Regions from separate parts of the Homo sapiens genome. Here all the other regions are linked to region 1. The links are contacts of gene promoters, found by promoter capture Hi-C in blood cells and fetal thymus (Javierre and others, 2016). All regions are on one chromosome and are shown on one strand. The core of a region is centred on a gene start or on the middle of the fragment in contact, and the rest is flanking DNA. Distances in the headings are between cores, read along the strand shown. Region 1 holds the start of GTPBP4 (GTP binding protein 4). Region 2 has its middle 110 kb from the start of DIP2C. Region 3 overlaps LARP4B (La ribonucleoprotein 4B).

Region 1 (2,736 bases), core at 173-2,672:
ACCGGATTACAAGAAAAAGAGGAACTGGCTATATCAGAGTGAGAGAAAGTGGGAGAGGTTGAGGAAACATACAAGAACCTAAAAGAAAGGGCAATAAGTATGAGCATAGCTTTGCTAATCTCGGAAATGGTGGCCAGAACTGTCCTGTGGTTTAGCAAATGATCATAGCCAGCAAATCCTAATTACCCTAGAAGCTTCCTTTAGAAGTGCCACAAAGATGTAGGAGGTATGCTTATCCGCCTTGTGACACAAAAATGGAAGCATAGTTAATAGATGAGAAAAGCATGACCCAGAATGATTTTCAATATTGGAATGCTGGGAATTTATGAGAGGTATTTTCGCGTAAGAATAATAGGACTTGTTTAAAAGGATTGGAGAGTGGGGGGCATCCCAGATGCGTGAGAAGCAGTATAGCTAATGGTTAGAAGCAGGTTTGCTGGAGCCAGGCTGCCTGGGTTCAAAGCCCACCTCTGCTGCCTGTTAGCTTGTCAGCTGCACAACCACGGGGTGCTTTCGAGCCTTGTGTGCCTTTGTTTCCCCATGCACTTCATGAGGCTGTTGCAGAAATTAAACGAGTTAATATATAGTCAGCAGCTCTGAACACTGCTTGACTGAGTCAGCCCTACCTAACGTTTAATTTAAGGGATGTGGCCCTGGGTTCCCAAAGGGAGCGGCCACTCTATTCACAAACATAAAAGCAGTAAAGGCTCCATCCTCATCAACCTTCTCCTCAGTTGGACCCCACAGGACTGTCTCTCGCAACTGTTCCCTGGGCTCTCCTAAGGCACTGCGCGGAACCAGCTGCACCTCTTTTGCCTTAGATCAGGCTTTCCCTTCTCCGCCCGTTTTGGGATTTAACAAGCACGAGAAAGCAGGGCTGCAGGGAAGCCGCGAGGGCCTCCTCACCACGGCCCGGGATCAAGTCCCACGCGCGAGGCCGGGGTAGGGGCGTCATCTGCTCCACACCCAGAGGCTGGGCACGCCCCGCACGCGCGGCTTCCTCCTCCTTTGCGGGGCTCGCCGCGACCCAGGACCCCCAGACTCCCGGATCCCCTAGACCCTCTGGACTCCTAAGCCCCGCAACTCCCAAATCCCAAGACCCCGGACCCTCCAACCCTGGCCCAGGGCGCGTGGCTGGGGGCCTGAACCCGCTCCAGAAACCCGCAGGGCAGTCTGTCGGAAACCCCCGCTTTACTCAGCAGGAATTTAGTCTCCGCGCTCCCCCTAAAACCCGGGCGTCCTCTCCTCTGTACCCTCGCTCCTGAGGCCCTCACACGCCCTCCGTGGCTGACCTCCAAGCCGGGCGGGTGCGCTGTGCGACGCGGAAAGCGCCGTAGAGCACGCAGAACACGATTGGCTGAGCTCCCGGAAGTGACGTACCTCAACCGCCCGACAGTGGAAGTCCCACCTGCGCCCGACGGCGGAAGTTCCGGGAGTGCCAAGTACCCGCGTGCATACGGCTGCCGGCATGGCACATTACAACTTCAAGAAAATTACGGTGGTGCCGTCCGCCAAGGTAGGCGGCCCCGGGAGGGCCACTGCAACTTTCGCGTTCTCCTCAGCTGGGTCCCCGGGGAGGGTCCGGGCCTGTAGCCGTGGGAGAGCGGTCGCCTTCCGCTCGCCCATCCCCCGCTCCTGGGCCTGACCGTCTGGCCGCGTACTCGGGATCATTTCCCCTCCCCCAGCAGAATCCGGGGTCCACCAGAGATCGGATCCCCCAGAGACCGGGGTCCACCTAAGACCGTGGTCCACCCAAAGACTGAGGGCCCCCAGAGATGGGGGTACACCCAGAGTTGGGTTCCCTGGAGGGGCCCCGGGTGACGATGTGGGCGAGTGGAGGGGGACCCCGACATGTGAGGGAGGAAGCGTTCCGTGGTCCGTGATGAGCCTTCGGATTCTGGGTTTGGCGTAGCCCCCTCCCCTCTCAGGAATCCTGGGTTCGTTGTTCTCGTGATTTAACGTTTCATAATTTTTAAGTCATTCTCTTTCACTGTTAGATTTGGGAATACCTGTTCCTTTTCAGACCATAGTAGGCCCAGACTAAATTTTTACAGCGTTGGTTGGTGTGGCAAGAATGAGTCAACAAGTGTTGAGTATTAGGACTTTTTTTTTTTTTTTTTTTTTTTGAGACATAGTTTTTCGCTCTTGTTTCCCAGGCTGGAGCGCAGTCTCGGCTCACTGCAACCTCCACCTCCCGCGTTCAAGCGATTCTCCTGCTTCAGCCTCCCGAGTAACAGGGATTACAGTCGTGCACCACCACACCCAGCTAATTTTCGTATTTTTAGTAGAGACGGGGTTTCACCACGTTGGCCAAGCTGGCCTCGAACTCCTGATCCCGGGTGATCCTCCCGCCCCGGCCTCCCAAAGTGCTGGAATTACAGGCGTGAGCCACTGCGCCCGGCCCTAGTATTAGGACTTTTAAGAAGTCACGTTTTTATGTAGTGAACATTCGATTTGGGTCGCAATTACACAGACATTGACGGGCAACTGGAGCCTCCCAGGGACTCCTGCACGAGAGGGAGTTACTGAAGTCCCTGCAGAGTGACTGTTTTCCCCTCGTCAGTGCCTCCTTTTCTTCAGGTCTCAAGGACGGGATGAGCTTGCCTTGGAAAGCTTTGTGGGAGTCTCGTATTTTACCTTCATAGCAAAAGTTGTTTCCCCACTTCTCTCCACCATTTCTTATTTCTTCCTGACAGTTGTTCTGGCACATCTCTTGATCGATTGTAGTATTTTCTT
Region 2 (2,736 bases), core at 63-2,562, 190 kb before region 1:
ACAGACAAACTACAGAACAGGGGAAAATATTTGCGAACTATGCATTCTACAAATATCTAATATCCAGAATCTATAAAAAAAGAAATCAACAAGCAAAAAACACATAAACCAATTTAAAAATGGGCAAAAGACATAAACAGACACTTCTCAAAAGAAGACACAAGTGACCAACAAATGTGAAAAAATGCTCCACATCACGAAACATCAGAGAAATGCAAGTCAAAACCACAATGAGATACCATCTCACACCAGTCAGAATGGCTATGCTTTCAGATGTTGAGGTTTTTTTTGAGACAGGGTCTTGGTCTGTTGACCAGGCTGGAAAGCAGTGGTACGATCACAGCACAGTGCAGCCTTCACCTCCTGGGCTTAAAAGGATCCTTTCACTTCAACCCCCTAAATGGCTGGGACTACAGGTGTGTGCCACCACACCCAGCTAATTATTTTTATTTTTTGTAGAGACGAGGCCTTGCTATGTTGCCCAGGTTGGTCTCAAACTCCTGGGCTCAAGCAATCCTTCTGCCTTAGCCTCCCACAGTGCTGGGATTACAGATGTGAGCCATTGTGCCCAGCCAGAATCGCTATTATTAAAAAGTCAAAAAACAACAGATGCTGGGAAGCTGCAGAGAAAAGGGAATGCTTATACACCGTTGGTGGGAATGTGGGCCCTGCGGTCCTGGCCTACAGGGAGACGCCATCCTACAAAATAAAATGTAGAAATGAACACTCCACCCCGTCCCACGTGGCTGCAAACATCAGAGTCCTTTGGGGATCAGCTGTGCACAGTAAGCCAGCAGTACTCCGATGTCCCCAGGACAGAAGTGTGGAACCACAGCAATTAGCCACTCTACCCACAACTTCCAGCCTGTGAGCCAGGGACAAGGATGACGAGCCTCAGGCCTCCAGGGGCGTGAACCCGGTGTGCTGCCCCAGGTCTCACAAGACCCCAGGACACAGCTCTGGCCTGTAGCAGCCAGGACCACCCTTCAGCCCCGTGCCGTCTGACACAGTCACGGCCACACAACACAAACTGTCTCCTTCATCATGTTTTACATAGATTGTGTTGAAATGGTCCTATTTTGGGCAGAGTCAAATAAAATATTTCAAAAATCGCTTCCCCTGTCTCCTGTTGGGCTTTTCTAGGGTAACAGGACGCTCCCACTCACACTGCAGGAGCCCCTCCAGAGTGGGGCTGGAAGCTTCTCTGGGTTTACTGAGAAGAGGGCCTGGGGTTCTTGCCTGTGGGGGTGTCTGCCTGGCACTCACCGGCCGGCTTGCTGACCTGCAGGAAGGCCTGCGCACCCCGGTGGGGCTGGCTCCCACAGGCCCAGCTCGGCATCCAGGCTGCAGCCATCTTGCAGCCCATATGGCAGTTCCAAGAGGGGGGTTGGCGGTTTTCCTCCCATGGAACGGCCAGCACACCGTGAAGCTTGTCTCCTCCCCACCCTGACCCAGTCTTCCCCGAGCCCTGTCTCTCCAGGTCCGGTCTTTCGGGCTCGAATGGCATCTAAACAGGGCAGGAAATACCTCCTCCTGCCAAAGCAGAGGTCAGGCGGGCGAAGGACACGAGGGTGGGGCCATCTGTTCAGGAAACGAAGGCGGCTTCTCCTGGAGACGTGGAGGGTCCACCTAGGTTCCTGCTGTCTAGACGGGTAGGGCCCATGATCCCCACCTCTCCACACCTCCCATCGGCTGTCCTGCCCTGTCCTGTCTGTGCACAGAAGGGAGGTGTGGGCACCGAGGCGGTCCTGGGCTGGGAGCATGCTCTGGCCTTTCTCACCTTGAAGCTCCTCGGGGCTCTGCACTAGCAGCCCACGAGATGTGCATGTTTCTAGGACAGGTGGCCCCTTAGACTCTGCCACGCAGGGCCCCTCCCAACTTGAGTCACTGGCAGGGCACCCCCCAGCTCACTCTGTGCCCTCTGCAGGCTCAGCCCTGCTGGGAGGGAGGGCCAGTCCTGTGCAGAGGGGCCACGCCACCTTCCCTCCCATTCGTGGCCAGTGGGAGTGAACACAGGGTTGGTGGGTGAGCCGCCTGTAGTTTAGAAGGAAGAAGCAAAAAATTTAACAAACTTGAAATGTAAAAATCATGATTTTTACAGAAATACTATGTTCTTAAAGCATTTAAGATGGTGAGCTCTGCCACCATTTTTTCATGTTTTTTATTTTACATTTAGGTTTGAGGTTTTCATTGTCATCATTAAGTTTCAGTATATTTTCTGCAGTCATCCACAAAAATGGGTCAGTAGCACAAAAGTGTTTCATCAGAACATAAATGTAACATAAATATTAGCTGGAACCATATAAAGTTGCTACTTGCTCACTTTGACCTCTAAAAACAGTAATTTCATCTGGCATGACCAAATACAACTGTAAGTAACATGTATGTTTACAAGCAAAGCTGACTGGGCTCTCCAAGCCACAGGGACAGCAAGATGAAGTTTGCAGGATGCAGCTGGTGACGATCACTCAGGGCATCTCTGAAAGTGGCTCTCCTGCGGCAGGGCCACCCACCCGGGAGGTCACAGCCGGGGTCACACGGAGCTGCAGGGTGGGGCGGGCTCTGCCTCTGCCGCTCCAGTGCGACAGCAGAGCAGCAGGCATGATGTGACACAGATGAGCCCGGCCCTGGCTCCTCAGGGAGGACCCTGTAGACCTACGCCGGGGATGGTGGGTGCCCTGAGGAAGGGTAACCTCCCCAGCAGGTCCCTCCACCAGGCGCCACCCTGAGGTCTCT
Region 3 (2,736 bases), core at 101-2,600, 150 kb before region 1:
CCCCTTGCCAGTAACAATCAACTGAGAAATCATCCCAGTGGGGCAGCAGCGTTTGCAAGGTCTGTCCGAAAAGGAATAACTAAACCTGAAACTCCTAATCATAACCAAAAAGACTTCAGAGTACAAACAGGGACAAGAATGCTGCTGGCCTTTCAAAGATGGGGCCCAATTCAGCTGGCACAGACAACAGCTTCTGTTCTGCATGATGACACCAGGGAGCACGGCGCCATCCTGGGAGACAGCAGTGCCGCTCTCAGAACTCACAGTCAATGGTAATTATGTTTGTCAGTTTTTTCACTGTCTCCAATAATTTAATAACCCATGCTATTTGTCTAAAAACAGAAAAACATAAAACTTTTATTTTATATTTTATTTGTGAAAAGAAAATCCAACTAAGTTCTCATGTAAGATGCTCACTTTTTTATACTACTGTAAAGTCAAATTCATACAAGAAAAAAAAAAAACCTGCACAGACTGTCGTCAGTACAGATAAGCCAGGGACAACGTGAAAACCCTTCTATGTGAGTATAGGCAGTGGACTTAATTGAGACTTGAAGTCAGGCTTAGCAATGTCCAATCACTCAAAACTATGTAGGGGCACCATCCACACTTAATGCTTAAACACTGTTTGATGTTGCCAAACTTCAAAGAAACAACTTCACTCACAACATAATTTTTTTTTTTTTTTATGAGATGGAGTCTATCTCTGTCGCCAGGCTGGAGTGCAATGGCACAATCTCAGCTAACTGCAACCTCCGCCTCCTGGGTTCAAGTGATTTCCCTGCCTCAGCCTCTCAAGTACCTGGGATTACAAGCACACACCACCACGCCCAGCTAATTTTTTGTATTTTAGTGGAGACAGGGTTTCACCATGTTGGCCAAGACAGTCTCAATCTCCTGACCTCATGATCCGCCCAACTCGACCTCCAAAAGTGCTGGGATTACACGCGTAAGCCACCACACCTGGCCCACAACATAATTTTAAGAAAAATTGCAATAATTATTTCATCCGAACATAAACAGGAAGTTGCAATTTGAAAGAAAAACCTCTAGTGGTAAAACTGTAACTAAAGTGTATTTTACTTTAACTATAAATGTTATTTTTATTTTGTTTTTCATGAATGAAACAGCTATCTTTAAAATCCCCATTAACAAGATTCTTTTCTACTTCATATGTCCCAAAACTTGTTTGAGGTTTCATAACGGGTTCAACTGGCATTCCCAGGGACTATCAGGCGCTACTCCAGAATTATTGGACCTGGGCAGAAAGGAACGGAAGGCCAGAAAAGAATCTGATTCGCCATCAAGGACCTTAACGTTTGATGGCTATAGATTTAAAGGTTCATGCTGATAAGACAAATACTCTAAGGACAAGTATTATTAATTTAAATTGTCATTTACTTACATCTTAGCACTTCCACAATCAAGTCCACATCAGTGCTGAGCTTCTTGATGTGGTCGAGGTTAGCCACCGTTGTGATTGGCACATACTGGTCACTATCCATCTGTGATATAAGATACATGTCACTAGCAAGGTTCTCCCTGTTGAAAGAAAACAATCTCTTTTAATCAGTATTTCTTTAAAAGGAAGTTTCACCTACTGTAATTCCAGTTTCACAAGAGGCGTGAGTGTGGCATGGTATTGCTTTGGAGTTAAATCTCAGCCCAGGACCCATCTGTTATTTGCTGTCTCTCCAGCCTCAGGTACATTTTTGCAAAATCTCGGCCTTGGAGAGGCAGGGAGTGCAAAAGTAAAAGTATACTGTACTTTCTACAATCAAAATTTATGAGAAGATGGTTATTTTTAAATAAGATGTAATTATTTATAGCTGTCATTTTTGTCCTAAGAAGTAGCTTAAGAGTTTATTAAAAATGCATACAATTTTGTTAGGCCGGGCACGGTGGCTCACGCCTGGAATCCCAGCACTTTGGGGGGCCAAGGTAGGCAGATCATCTGGGTTCAGGAGTTTAAGACCAGCCTGACCAACATGGTGAAACCCCATCTCTACTAAAAATACAAAAATTAGCCAGGCATGGTGGCGGGCACCTGTAATCCCAGCTACTCGGGAGGCTCAGGCAGGAGAATCGCTTGAACCCGAGAGGTGGAGGTTACAGTGAGCCAAGATCACACCACTGCACTCTAGCCTGGGCGACAAGAGTGAAACTCTGACTCAAAAAAAAAGAAAGAAAAACAATTTAAAGTAAAGAAATCCAGCTCAATGAACAAGAAAGGAAAACATAAAAAGGCCAGGATAAGGTCATACCCAAAATTCCTCCTGTAGACTCTGGAACACTCACCAGAGGGCCTATATCCAGCCCTGGCTTCCTAGCAGCCAGAATTAAAAAGAAGGAAACAGTAACTTTACCCACAAAATCCAAAGGTGAGCCACAAATCATCAGCAGTTTGGGCCATGATGAGCTATTTTCTGGTGTTTTGGCCAAAGATCAATGTTTCCTGTGAATTCTCAAGGCATCATGTAATGTAGTGAACAAGGCCCTAAGAAACATTTCAAAACTGAGCACAGTGCTGGGTTCCTGGGGCCTCTGCTCAGTGTCCCTCGGTGAAGGCCCATGACTGCCGATCAAACGGAGGCCATGCAGGAGGAGGCCCTGCTCCACCCTCATCTCGGCCATCTTCCAGGTGTAGCTGATTCTGGCCCCATGGGGCTACACATGGATGTGAGTGGCAGAGAGCTCACACTTGTGCTCCACTAGGGCGTTCCACTGGTGCCCCTG

Evidence for each region. Contacts are between HindIII fragments. The CHiCAGO score rates a contact against its expected background, and 5 or more counts as called.
Region 2: a fragment that was not itself captured here is called in contact with the fragment with the promoter of GTPBP4 in region 1 in 1 of 17 cell types (monocytes); the score reaches 7.0 in monocytes.
Region 3: a contact is called between a fragment that was not itself captured here and the fragment with the promoter of GTPBP4 in region 1, in 9 of 17 cell types (monocytes, M2 macrophages, M1 macrophages and 6 more). The highest score is 20.0, in monocytes.

What each region holds. Positions count from the first base shown.
Region 1 is chr10:987,012-989,747 of GRCh38, forward strand. GTPBP4 (GTP binding protein 4) reads left to right here and starts at 1,423. Exons shown (of 17, transcript NM_012341.3): 1 at 1,423-1,516. The coding sequence starts at 1,469. It also overlaps a transcript of LARP4B not described here. The HindIII fragment of the contact is 2,419 bases long and covers 193-2,611 here.
Region 2 is chr10:801,795-804,530 of GRCh38, forward strand. No RefSeq gene overlaps it. Among named protein-coding and RNA genes, the nearest start is that of DIP2C, 110 kb to the left of the region's middle. The HindIII fragment of the contact is 230 bases long and covers 1,198-1,427 here.
Region 3 is chr10:841,527-844,262 of GRCh38, forward strand. It overlaps LARP4B (La ribonucleoprotein 4B), which reads right to left. Exons shown (of 18, transcript NM_015155.3): 7 at 1,406-1,542. Among named protein-coding and RNA genes, the nearest start is that of LARP4B, 89 kb to the right of the region's middle. The HindIII fragment of the contact is 4,915 bases long and covers 1-2,736 here.